Regions from separate parts of the Homo sapiens genome. Here regions 1 and 3 are each linked to region 2. Evidence: promoter capture Hi-C in 16 types of primary human blood cells and fetal thymus (Javierre and others, 2016). All regions are on one chromosome and are shown on one strand. The core of a region is centred on a gene start or on the middle of the fragment in contact, and the rest is flanking DNA. Distances in the headings are between cores, read along the strand shown. Region 1 overlaps ING1 (inhibitor of growth family member 1). Region 2 holds the start of LIG4 (DNA ligase 4). Region 3 holds the start of RAB20 (RAB20, member RAS oncogene family).

Evidence for each region. The method cuts DNA at HindIII sites, captures the fragments that hold promoters and counts their contacts. A CHiCAGO score of 5 or more calls a contact.
Region 1: a contact is called between a fragment that was not itself captured here and the fragment with the promoter of LIG4 in region 2, in 1 of 17 cell types (fetal thymus). The highest score is 5.2, in fetal thymus.
Region 3: the fragment with the promoter of RAB20 here is called in contact with the fragment with the promoter of LIG4 in region 2 in 2 of 17 cell types (naive CD8 T cells and monocytes); the score reaches 6.4 in naive CD8 T cells.

What each region holds. Positions count from the first base shown.
Region 1 is chr13:110,715,194-110,719,416 of GRCh38, reverse strand. ING1 (inhibitor of growth family member 1) reads right to left here. Exons shown (of 2, transcript NM_198219.3): 2 at 1-188. Among named protein-coding and RNA genes, the nearest start is that of ING1, 3.6 kb to the right of the region's middle. RefSeq lists enhancers at 1-147, 2,911-3,000, 2,870-3,563, 3,741-3,910 and silencers at 3,291-3,340, 3,371-3,650. The HindIII fragment of the contact is 364 bases long and covers 2,026-2,389 here.
Region 2 is chr13:108,212,346-108,216,899 of GRCh38, reverse strand. LIG4 (DNA ligase 4) reads left to right here and starts at 1,364. Exons shown (of 3, transcript NM_206937.2): 1 at 1,364-1,416; 2 at 2,290-2,362. RefSeq lists a silencer at 1,162-1,301 and an enhancer at 1,145-1,439. The HindIII fragment of the contact is 5,824 bases long and covers 1-2,899 here.
Region 3 is chr13:110,558,737-110,562,971 of GRCh38, reverse strand. It overlaps RAB20 (RAB20, member RAS oncogene family), which reads left to right and starts at 1,250. Exons shown (of 2, transcript NM_017817.3): 1 at 1,250-1,624. The coding sequence starts at 1,453. RefSeq lists silencers at 1,121-1,570, 1,462-1,651, 1,631-1,690. The HindIII fragment of the contact is 2,254 bases long and covers 693-2,946 here.

The sequences.
Region 1 (4,223 bases), core at 958-3,457, 2.5 Mb before region 2:
GCTGTCCACCTGCCGCGTGCGGTTCTCCACCAGCTCCACCATCTGGCTCACGATCTGGATCTTCTCGTCGCCCAGCTCCTGGCTGCGGATCAGCGCGCGCTGCACACAGTGCAGCATCCGCCGCTTCTGCGCCCCGTCTGTCTCGCGACTGAAGCGCTCGTAGCACTCGTCTAGCTCCTTCAGGATCTCTGGGGGCAAGAAGGACAGGCGTCACTCGCGAGCAGGACACCGGGACAACCCACACGGCCCCGGACGGGTCTACGGAGAGGGCTGGCAGGGAGCCTAGGGGCCAGCGCACGGCTTGCCCAGAACAAAGCCCACCAGCCACAGGCTCTCCCGGGCCTATCTGTTCCTGTGCTAACCACAACACAACACAACACAACACAACACAACACAAATGCCGGCCCAGCTTCCACAGCGGCAGGAGCCGCTCCAGCCACCCCAGGGAACCTGAGAACAGTTCCCAGGCACGCACGGGTGACAACGCCCGAAGCCATTAAGAGGAAACGTTTAAATGAGGTGCAGTGCTCGGGACCCAACATTTATTAATACTTTCTATTAATGACTATGTCTATACTGCCATCATTTTTACTCAAATGTTTCTATTTGAATACAATTATTAATATACATATAACATTATATAAACATGGTATTTATTACATTTATACACAATATACAAACATTAATAAAATATATTATAAATTATTTGAATATTTCAAATAAAAAAGGTCTTTATTTTCTTTATTTTAATATACCAACATCTAGAATACCCTGTTAAATGAGAGAATGTGTATAAATTTATATAATAGCTCTCTATGATTTAAAGAACCGGGTTAACAGTAAAGGTCCAGGATACTTTGTGACTTAGGTCCTCAGTTTCAGTCCCCACATTTATTCTAGCATGTTATCCCTCTGTATTAGTGACAGCAAGAACAGTTCTGCCACAATAATCCAGAAAACCTAGCTTTGCTTTATTATTATTACGACTTGTTATTATTTTGGAGACAAGGTCCGTCTCTGTCGCCCAGGCTGGAGTGCAGTGGTGCAATCTCGGCTCACTGCAGCCTCGACCTCCCAGGTTCAAGGGACCCTCCCACCTCAGCCTCCTGAGTAGCTGGGACTACAGAAGCACCACTGTGATGGGCTATTATTATTATTTTTTAACTGCAGTGAATGCACTAGCCTTGCTTTAAAGCGAAGCTGGTAGGTTTTACTTTTGCATCTACTGCTTAAACAAAAACATCTTCACATCTGTTAAAGTCAATGGACTTTAAAATGTTATCAAAAACAAAAGAAAACCTCTTCAGTATTTAAATGTAAACCTTCCTGGGCATGTTAGAGGACAGTGTATATGATTTTAAAGTGTAATTTGGCAAGTGTAATTAGGCAATTTCTCAAGAAACAAAAGCTATTAAAAAATCTAGTTGAAGTAAACAGCCTTGCTAAAAAGGCTACTTAAATACACAGAAATTCCAGAGTTCTTTTTCCTCAAACAGTAACCATTAAATTAAACAGTACCAGATTATTCTCCTAAAACCTTTTTGCAGTCTCTTTAAACAAGGCAACAATACTACCTTTTTTTGTTGTTGTTGAAACGGAGTTTCACTCTTGTTGCCCAGGCTGGAGTGCAATGGCGCGATCTCAGCTCACTGCAACCTGCCTCCCAGGTTCAAGCGATTCTCCTGCCTCAGCCTCCCGAGTAGCTGGGATTACAGGCATGTAATACCACGCCCGGCTAATTCTGTATTTTCAGTAGAGACAGGGTGTCTCCATGTTGGACAGGCTGGTCTCCCAACTCTCGACCTCAGGTGATCCGCCCGCCTCGGTCTCCCATGGTGCTGGGATTACAGGAGTGAGCCACCGTGCCTGGCCAACAATACTACTTGTAAACTAGGGGAGGGGCTGAGAGTGGGAGGGATTGTCTAAAATGTTACCCCCTTCCTTTCCAGATCTTATCTCCAAATAGTTATAAGACATATACCTAACACTAGAGTAAACATAAGAACTCAGGCCAACGCTGAAGCTTCTCTAAATGGTAATATTTTCCAGAGTATATTCTCAAACTAAAGACAGCTTTGAAGACTCCTAGAGGAACAATGCAGGCTGCCTGCCACCAGGAGGAAAGCCCTAGTCTCATATAGTAATTAATTATAAAAATAAATAGCTGTGTTCAACGTATCCAAGTAATACCAATTTATTCAACTTATTTATCATAATGTTAAAATATGTGTACCATTTATTTTTAAATGGATTTAGGGTTACAAAATGGTATCACTTCTTTTCATCAGTAATCAAAGTTCTAAAGACAATATTGTCATTTCACAGAAAACTGTATCATATAAATTTAAAATTTAATAACACAGAAGTTATTTTACATCACAAGCAAGCTTCCATCCAGGTGAAGCCTAATTTGTGGGCAAGAGAAACAGATATCCCATCGCAAAATTACCAAGAAGTATTTCTGTTACCTAATATTTCTTTGATACTCCAAGCAAAGTATTTTATCAACAAAGCCACTAAGTACAAATATTTATAAACAGGAACAACACCACTGCTAAATAGGAAGCCATCCTTCCAGACACTCTGCTTTTTCAATGCCAGCAACTCAGCTTCAGACACTACTGCCTTTTTTCCAAACATATTCCACACCAACATTACCATGGAAAGCAGCAGCACATGCAATTTACAGATTAAATGGGGTTGTAGCAACATTTAAATTGGTTTGTCCAATTATTTTAAATGTATTTTAATTTTACATACGGGTTGCACTGAAGTTCTTTATGAAGCGAACTTCCCAGGGGGTGGGTGGGTATTTTTATGATAATGTTTGAAAAATAATTCAAGCAACCTCAAACACCATTTTAAATCGACAAACTAATTATAATCCAAGTTTATGAATTAACATACAACTGATGCCTACTAAGCAAAAGACGTTTGACTTCCTACAGAGTAGGTCTGTGGAAGTCTTTCAGAACTACGCGGCAGAGCTCAGCATTTACACCGAAGTCCAAGGAGCTGTGACCCTTGCGACAGATTCGCTCGCTTCTCGGCGCTCCCAGCTGCGCCGCTCCAGTACTCCCGGGGGGGCAGGACTGTGATCTTTCCTGAAGCCAAAAAGTTCATCACCCTAGGTGAACATGAAGCAAGCAGCAAGCCAGGCTCTCCCCAGCAACGACAGGAGGACAAAGTGGCTCCATGAACTTTGCTGTCTGGACAGCTGGAACCCTGCACCCCGCCCCGCGCTACTTTTTTCTATCGTCGAACGATCAAAGTGGTCTCAGCCCCTGCCTTCCTTCCGTCCGGAGCCCCAGGGTCACCCCACGGGGCCCGTCCGGCCCGAGGACAGCACCTTCCAGAAAAGTTTCTGCGCCGAGGGTCCCCCTCGTGGACGCAGCCCCAGTCACTCACGTTTCCACGGCCACGCGCGGCCCCACCCTCGGGTCAGCAGAGATGCGGCCTGAAACTGTCTCCGAGCCGGCCCCGCGGGTCGCGGGAGGCGGTCCGAACTGCAGCCCCGGCCCCGAGCCCACAGGCCCGGGATCACTGCTACTGCTATAAATCCGCGCCCGAAAGTGGCCGGGCTGAGCGGGGAGAGGGGCCGGGGCGACACCCGCCAGGCCTCCAGCCAATGGGGAGGAGGCCAGCGGGAGACTCGCCCCGCACCCCGAGAGCCGCCGCCTATGGGAATCGCCGATTTGGAGGGCGGAGGCCAGGAGGAGAACCAACCACACCGCAGGGCGGAAGAGCACGGCCCGCCCCAGCAGCGAGAAGAACCAATCCAAGGCTGGAGGCCGAGCGACCCGAAGACGTTCAAATCAACTCGTCCACCCTCCACCCCGCTCCTCCCCGAAAAAGAAAAAAGAAGACAGCGGAAACACAGACCCATACCAGTTATTGCGCTAGGCCCGCCTTCATCCGCCTCAGCGACCAATCGTTCCGCAGGGGAATGATAAGGACATTCCACGAAGGACATCACAGCCAACTACTGGGGGGCTGAGGCGGGACGTTCCATAATATGCTAATGAAGTTCCTATAAAATTCGCTGCGAAGCTACGTCTCGGATAGAACGCGCAGGGGCGCCTTCCCGGCAGAGGCGTCTAGTACTTTCGGGGATAGCGGTCAATTTTTTTTTTTGCCCCCACCCAACTCTTCCGTTTCCCTACTGCGCAGCCTTGTAAACATTAGTAAACTCCGAGTGGTGATCCACATTCAAAACAGAGCCC
Region 2 (4,554 bases), core at 115-2,614:
TCTTTGAACCAATCAACTAAAATAACATGATGAAATGGAGACTGGGCTTTGAATCAATTTGGAGTTTGCCTGGTTTCATAATTCATGGTTCTTCTCATGTAACTAATACAAAGTCCAGCTTCTGACATTGTAGGAGCTCAGTAGAGGTTGAACAAGCTACAAATGTACACGGATAGGTACCCTCTCCTAAGATGGGCAAGTGGAGGCTCCTCTACCTTAACACTATTCATTTTTCCTCCAAAATAAATTGATAACTAAATTGAAGAGCAGATACTCACAAAACAATATCATGAGACTTTACAACATCACAGATGATTTTAGATATTCAGGCATATTAGGTCAATTAGACATACGAAGTAAATAACTGAATGTTCTTGGGCTAGACGGAACCTCCGCTACAAACTAGCACTGAATGAAATGTGTCAGTTTTGAAAAAGGAGGTTTTTATACATTACACAACCTCTAAGGGCACTTAACAGCTCTAATATGTTTTATCAGGGCCCACTGCAGCAAAATTTATTTTATTGTAAAGCAATATTTTATGCTAAAATAAAATAGTTCTAAAAGTTGTTTCCACCCCTCTTTATGAATAACTTCTCACTTCTCCATGGCGAAAGAGGACTGACCACAGCAAAAATTCGGTGGAAACCAACAGCTCCTGGAACACAAAAACTGGGGTTGTTTATAATCTCTCCACCCTGAATATCTAGCACCATTACTATATAATAATAGGTGCTCAATAAAGGTTTGTTAAATAACTTTATTTTTAAACCTTAAACAGATACTAGAAGAGTCCATAGTTGATTTCTGGTCATGCAACGGTTTATTTCTATATTGTAAGTTATGTATTGTTATGTATTATTTCTGTATTAAGAGAACTGAGACCACAGTAGCAAACATCATTTAAAAAAAAAAACAGCTCTATATAGTTTGCAAAAGCCTATTTTTTAAAAGTTTAAATGAAACAACCAACGTTTTGAGTTGGGAGGATGTCCTGTTCTCTCTTGGGAGTTTTCACAACCAGCGAAATCAGTATAGTTACCACTGTTTTACGTACAGAGAACAAGAATTAGAGGCTATCACTAGCCAGAGCACAAAGTGATCTTAGGTCTCCCTCGAGACAAAATCCACTGGCGTGTGGATCAACTGCTTGCAGAGAGCATCTGCTGCCGAGGCCAATAGGAGCCGTGTGTACTCAAGACCCTAACCAGGATCCTGCAGGTCCCGCCTCCGCAGCCCCACGGGGCTGCCGGCCCCCCCACCTCCCATCGCGAGCCTGGCTGCGCCGGCGTGCTTGAGCCCGGTGACTGCAAGGCCCCGGGTCTCCCCTGCGCCTGCGCGGCGAGCAGCTGGCGGAACCGGCATCTTCTGGCGCCAGCTTCCGGCTTAGCGGCTGAGCTTCAGGCTTGACGTCAGGTGGGAAGGGTGTGGGGTGGCAGGTGGGGGCGGTTGGGAGGTTGGGGGGGGTTGGGGTGGGGGGGGTGGGGGGTGGCAGATTGACGGTGTGGGGGGAGTCAAGTGGAAGGTGTGGTCCAGCAGGCGGCGAGAAGTCTGTGGGGCAACAGACCGGGGGAAGGTCTGTGGGGCGTCAGGCGGGGTATCTGTGGGACGTCAGGTTGGGGTCTGTAGGGCGTCACGTTGGGGGTCTGTGGGGCGTCAGAGGGGGGAATCTGTGGGGCGGCAGGTGGGGGGTGTTCGGGGCGGGGTTTGGGGTGTGTGTGGCGGCAGGAGGCGGGGGAGGTCTGTGGGGCGTCAGGTTAGGGTCTGTGAGGTGTCAGGCGGGGTTTACGTGGGGTGGCAGGTGTGGGGTGTGTGGAGAGTCAAGTGGGGGGTGTGGGGCGTCAGATTGGGGGTCTGGGGGATCAGATGGGTGGTGTCTGGGACGTCAGGCGGGGGTCGGGGGGTCGTCAGGCGGGGGATGTGTGGGGAGTCAAGTAGGGGAAGTGGGGCGTCAGATTGGGGGTCTGGGGGATCCGGTCGTGGGGGTGTCTGGGACGTCAGGCGGGGGGCCTGAGGGGCGTCAGGTGGGGGGGTCTGGGAGGCGTCAGGCGGGGGTCGGTCTATGGGGGCAGCAAGCAGGGTGTTTGTGCAGCGGCAGGTGATGGGAGTTGCCGAGTCCACAGCGCTGTAGACTGCGCCGCATTAGAAGCCTGGCCTCCTGATGCTGTGCTCTTCATCTAGACCCAAGCCCCAGGTCGTGGGACGATTTCTCCCGTTTTTGACTCCCTGGAACTGTATTGCCTGCTTTACCTGCGTACATGTTGATTCTTTCTCATGGCAACCCCGCAGGAAACCATCAAGATCTCATTTTACAGCTGGGATTCTCTGGTTCACAGAGGTAACGGAGCTTGCCCGAGGCCAGGTATTCACTGGGAATCCGTGAAGGGTTGGGGGAGAGTAGGGGGAACGGGCAGAGGAATGATGTAGACTCCTTAGGGATTTTCCATTTTCCGAGAGGGTACAGGGGGCATTGGAGCGGGAGAGACTTTAGGCTTGGAGGGAATTACTTTATTTCTCTTCTTACACTTGGTCTTTCATTAACTTTTGGGATCCCAAAGCCCTTCTAGCGTCTTTGTCTGCTCATTTCTTTTTGCTGAGATTGTCCCAAATTGTCACTAAGTGCTGTGGAAGATAGGCAGCTGTAAACCCTTTGTTTCCTAGGGAAACACAGCTTGTCAAGGGTTGCATGAAGGATACTTCAGTTGCATTCGTCACTTACTCCTTTTTTTCCTCTCTCTTTTTTAAGTGCAATAGCATAGCACTTAATCACCTTCCATAGTCACTGAATAAAACCTGCCGGTTTATTTTCATGTGTCACTTCAGGACAATTTAGTCAGAACTGAATGAATGATGAATCGTTATTGTGTACTAATTGCTTGCATTCATTCTCCTGAAAGCTTTGCTTATTGTTAAAGAGTGAAGCTTCTTCCCACCTTTTTATCTCGTTAATATTTTGCAATATTTATATTTTAAATGTTGCTTGGATCAGCAAGCATTATAGTATTAAAATTATCAAGACTTACTACTTTTTAAAGCACATTTTGTAGATTATCTGATTTTTATCTTCATTCTAATTTCTACATAGTTTTTAACCCCATTTTATACTTTAGGAAACTGAAGCTTAGAGAAATTAAGTAATTGCCCAGTATCACACAGCTGTTAAATGTTACCATCCACATTTGAACTCAGATTTATTAGAGTCTAAAACCTGAGCCCTAACCAGGAACCTCCTCATTTGTCTTACTGCAAATGGAATGAATCAGCTAAAATCCTCAGAATCCAAAAAATAAAATTAGCATGTAAAAATGAATGGAAGTCCTAATCTTTGACTTTTTATGCCGTTGTAATGAGCAAAAATACTTACGACTAGTTTATGGCAATTTTGGAATCCTTGTTATAGGCGTAGCCATTTTAGGATACATGTGTATCCACACCATTACCTACATTTTGTCATTATAAAGTAATTTAAGTCCTTGCCTGGGATTTGTTGAGCGAAACTTTAACTTTGAGACCATGTAGAATCTATAGATATATCTGTAGAAACTATATACCAATATTTGAATATTAAAGAAATATTAGTTAACCTACTTTATTTTACATAGTTTATATAGAAATTGTAGATATAGCATTGTGTACCCTGTTTACTCCCTTGAGGGAGCAAATTTTGGGAGATAGGGCAGTGAACATACATAACCAGGTGTTACAGTCAGTTATGCAAACCAGATTCAGAGAGAGGAAACAACAGTATATTCAAAGATAAAAGTTTCAGGAAAGTGGTCTGTCATGCGTTTATCCCTCGATCTAACCCACTCAGTAGAAGCTGGGTTTCCTTTGTCAGAAATTAGACTGAGAAGTGCACCTTTTTTCTCTATAGGCCACCAAATGGCTGTTGTAAACCATTGCCAGGGCAGTCAGAGCTACTGAATATTTTTAACCAAACTGAATCTCACCCACTGTGTGTCTGCGTGCGTGTGTGAGTGTGTGGTATGTAACCAGACCATAGCTTTCCCTAGTGTGCTTATCCAGGAGTCAACTCTAGGTGTTCAGTAATTCATTCAGCAAACCTCCTACATGTCTGCCACTAGAGCACAAATTACAGCACAATTCCTGGCCTCTAGATACTGACAGTATAGTAAATGTAGTATTGTAATTAGCCATTTGATTTATTTTACTGGATACTAGATAATGTAGCCTTGTGCATGTGTGTGTTGCTCATTTGTTTGCGAATTGGAAGATGGGGAGTCACATATTTTCTGCACTGTAATAGATCTCCCCACTCCCAGCAAAACTTCTCCAACTCCACTGCCTGGGATACATGGTGGTGTGCCAGGAGGGGTCTGAAACCACAGGATAAAACATAGTTTCTATTCATGGACCATACATTTTACTTGAAATCTTTTTTTGGAAAAGTTATTTAACATTACATAGTTTAAACCATATTAAAATTACTCTAATATATTTATCTTCCAGTAGAACTTGTATGAATATTTAAAACTAAAGAAATTTACACTTGTGAAATTTTAGGAAATATTCTTGCCCTAGCTTAGCAAGGTA
Region 3 (4,235 bases), core at 1-2,500, 2.3 Mb before region 2:
ACCTGACATGCCAGGGCTGAGCAGGTACGAAATACCTTGGCATTCCTGCCTTGTCGGAGTCTCAGGGCACCTACGAAGGAGGCAACGGGCCTATTTCCCTTTACAGGACACCTTCAGGACACGGGTTTTAACCTGCTCAGGGTCTCATCGCCTTTCCCAGCCAGGCCAGCGGCCAGAGTGACACTGTCCCCCAGGGTTTAACTTAGAGTCCATTCTACCTCTCATTTTCTCTAAAAAACCCCAACCAACCAACTAACCAAATTCTACACGCTGCATATTTTAAAAGCATTTCAAGGTTTATCCTTTAAAACGGAAGGAGGACCTGGGAGGCCGAAGCGGGTGGATCACGAGGTCAGGAGTTCGAGACCAGCCTGGCCAACATGGTGAAACCCCGTGTCTACTAAAAATACAAAAATTAGCCGGGCATGGTGGCACATACCTGTAATCCCGCCTACTCGGGAGGCTGAGGCAGGAGAATCGCTTGAAACCGGAAGGCGGAGGTTGCAGTGAGCCGAGATCGCGCACTGCTCTCCAGCTTGGGCAACAACAGCAAAACTCCGTGTCAAAAATAAAAAAAAAAAAAAAAAAAGAAGGAGGAAATATTTCTCAAGTAGCGACTGCAACTTCCATAGTCAAATTTTCATTCCAAGCTATAAATGGAGATGACTGTCCACTTTTCAGGACAAAAAGCTTCTTGCAAAAGTAGAAGAGCAAAAGCAAAATCCTCCACTAGAAAGCGCCCCCATCTCTAATCTGTAACAGTGAGAGCCTCAGGACGAGTTCCGCAGACGCTCATTTAAAGCAAACTTTTTCAATGACCTTGAGGGTGGCTGTACTTACACGCGGAGAAGCAAATCGACCGCAGCTGGAAAGGCGCTGGGTCGAGCGTGAGAGGAACACGGGTTTTACCTAAGGGAGAGTGGAAGAGAGAAGGGGGTTCCCCAAGGGCCCCGGCCCCTTCGCCTCGTTCGGGCCCCGCGGCCAAGCTCCTCGCACCGCAGCCCCGGCTGTGCAGAAGCGGAGGGGCGGAAGGTGCTCTCAGAACTTTCATTTTCCACCCTGCAGCAGTCCCGAGCCTCGGCTGGAGAACTCGGATGCTTGCGAAACGGCGAGGTCCAGCAGGGGCGGGACGGGGGCGGTGGGCGGAGGAGGATAGGGCGGGGCCGCGGCGGTGAAAGGGCCCGGGGGCGGGGGCGGGGGCGGGGCGAGGCGAGGCCGCCGCGGTCCGGGCCCCCGACGTGGGCTCCGTGCTCTGCACCCAGCTCCTTCCCGGGCGCGCACACGCGCTTCCTCTCTTGAGCTCCCGGGCGTCCGGAGGCGAAGGTCCCGGAGCGTTCACGAGAATCCGGGTCCCGGCGAGTCCGGGGTCCGCTCCTCCAGCTGCGCCCAGGGCGCACGAGCCGGCCAGCCTCGGGGAGAGGGCGCGGGGGCGCTGGGGGTTCTTACGGGAAGATGAGGAAGCCCGACAGCAAGATCGTGCTCCTGGGGGACATGAACGTGGGGAAGACGTCGCTGCTGCAGCGGTATATGGAGCGGCGCTTCCCGGACACGGTCAGCACGGTGGGCGGCGCCTTCTACCTGAAGCAGTGGCGCTCCTACAACATCTCCATCTGGGACACCGCAGGTGAGGCCGGCGCCGCATGAGCCACACCGCCCTGGGGCTCCGCCGGGGACGGGGGGCGCGGGGCTTCCAGCAGGGCACCCGGCCGCGCACAGGGTCCCGGCCTCGGACAGCAAATGCCTCCTTCTCGGGGTTTCCCACTCGTCCTCCCTTGCTGGTTGGGCTGAGCGCTGCCTCTCAGCCACTCAGTGACCTCAGGGACAACCCAAGTTGCAGAGAACCCGCTGGTCATTTGTGTACCTAAGCTGCCTTTGCTCCCGAGCCCCGCGTTCCTGCTCTGCCGCCCTGGGAACCAGAGACGCTCCTCTGTGGCTGCTTTGTTAGGTATTTTCAGTTTTCACGTACCCGTAGGAACATGATATCCTTTGAGATTCACTTGAGGGGTGAGCAGAGCTGGTGTTATTAGCCCCTTTCTAAGAAAAAGTAAAATGAGGCACAGAGTGTTCCCCCCTGTTGGGTTTAGTCAGGAGAGAGGAAATAAAACTGGAGCCTCCGGACCTCTTAGCCCGGAGCATATCTGCCTTTTACAGTTAATCTTCTGCTTGATCTTGGCTCAGATACGTCATATGGGTTTGGGTTGGAGTGACTTCCGGTGGAAGCATTTTTAAGATAGGTAATGAGTTATTTTTATTGTGTAGTATTTGTGACTTTTCAAAAGTACAACTTAGAGGATCTCAATTCAGGCTTTCTGTTTAACTTTGGAAAATAACACTGGTGATTGTAGCATTGCAATGGAATATATTTCCTTCTCCTTACAAAAGAATAAGATATTGTAAGTGAATGAAGAAACTGGAAATAGTGTGACACATTTTCAATGAGTGTGAGTTTTTAGAAGCCTGAAACTCTGAAAGTTCTGACTTCTTTTATGTTAGCATCTTAAAAAGTCATATACCCAAAGGCCCCGTCCAGAATTCTTAAATTGCCATCTTGGGTGTATCAGTATGCTGAATAAACAAGATGATAATGAATTCTCTCTTTAAAACTGAATTAACGAAGCTCACAGAGGTACTTCCAGTTCTCCCCCTCCCTTTTGCCTTCTTTGATGCTTTTTTATTATTATCCCAGTTAACATCGTGACTAATTTATTGGCAATCATCTTGTGAAAACAATGTCCCCCAGGTAAAGAGGTGCATTTCCCTGATCTTTGCTCCAACTCTGTCTTCTGCCTCAGGCTGCAGGATGAGGTTTACTGAGCTGACTCCCTCACACTGAGCATTTGGTAACGATGGAACACACGCTCTAGAAGTCAAATCGAACCCAATTCACGAACCCAATTTGCTTCTGTACAAAGTCAAATTGAACCCAATTTGGTTTTGTACAAAGCTTTGCCCCTCTGCTGCTTTTGCTGGTTGGCTGGGATTTACTGCTGCCCTTGGTTTACAAGTAGCAAGGTTAATGCAGGAGTGTTATTGGGGGACCCTAACCGAAACCCCTGTAGTGGCCACCGTTGGAGGCAGACTCTTAACACACGGTGTGTTTCTGGAACAAGAGCTGCCCTGCAGTGCTGGAACGGCCCCTGCATCGGAGGGAATGAAGCAGCAGTTTCGTTTCCACTGGCCTCTTGCTTCTTCAGCACCAAGGACGTGATGCAGCCGGAATCCTGATCACCAGAGATTTTGCAGTTGTGCTGATGTGACGCCCCAGATGTCTTGAAGCGTTACTGGGGGGCAGCAGCTCATTTCCTGGCATCCGAGGCTGCTGCTGCTTGTTCGAAAGATCCTAAGGGTGAATTACTAGAGCTCCTCAGAACAGAGAGTGGCCAGGCCCCTTCTCCACATTCCTGACTTCCTGTGTACACACTCAGGCGGCCCTTGCCCAGAGTTGGCAGGGACACAGGGCACCCTTGCCTGCCTCCTCGGTGGCCTGTGGCCTGACCGGGTACTTGAAGGGAAAAGAGAGGTAGGAACAGATACCTTTTCTATAATTGTTGGAAATTCAGAATTTAACATTTAGGGGACCCTGTTCTTTTCCTTCTTTTGCTGAGCTCCTAAACTTTCTCTCCACCCCACAGACATTGCTTTTCAAGTTGTTTTTGTTGTAATTGTCATAACCGAGGCAGAATGGTAAGGACCAGCCGGAGGAGGAACCATTTTGAAAGTTGCTTTTAGCCACACAAGGCAGGGTGGGCTGGGGTGGGGGTGCAGGTGTGCAGAGGGCGACAGGATGTTTAATAGTAAAAACGATTGCATGGGGGTCAGTGTACACCCAATGCCTGGCTGCTTGTAGCCTGCAAGGCAGGCAGTGGATGGAGCTGAAGAGGGGGAAGAGAGTTGGCAGGGCAGAAGTACATTACCCTATTCCATTGACACAACAGTCCTCCAGAGGGAGGTGTGATTATTTGCATGTTAAAGATGGGGCCAGGCGTGGTGGCTCATGCCTGTAATCCCAGCACTTTGGGAGGCTGAGGTGGGTGGATCACGAGGTCAAGAGATCAAGACCATCCTGGCTAACATGGTGAAACCCCATCTCTACTAAACATACAAAAGTTAGCAGGGCGTGGTGGCGCACACCTGTAGTCCCAGCTACTCGGGAGGCTGAGGCAGGAGAATCGCTTGAACCAGGAGGCAGAGGTTGCAGTGAGCCAAGATTGTGCCACTGCACTCCAACCCGGTGA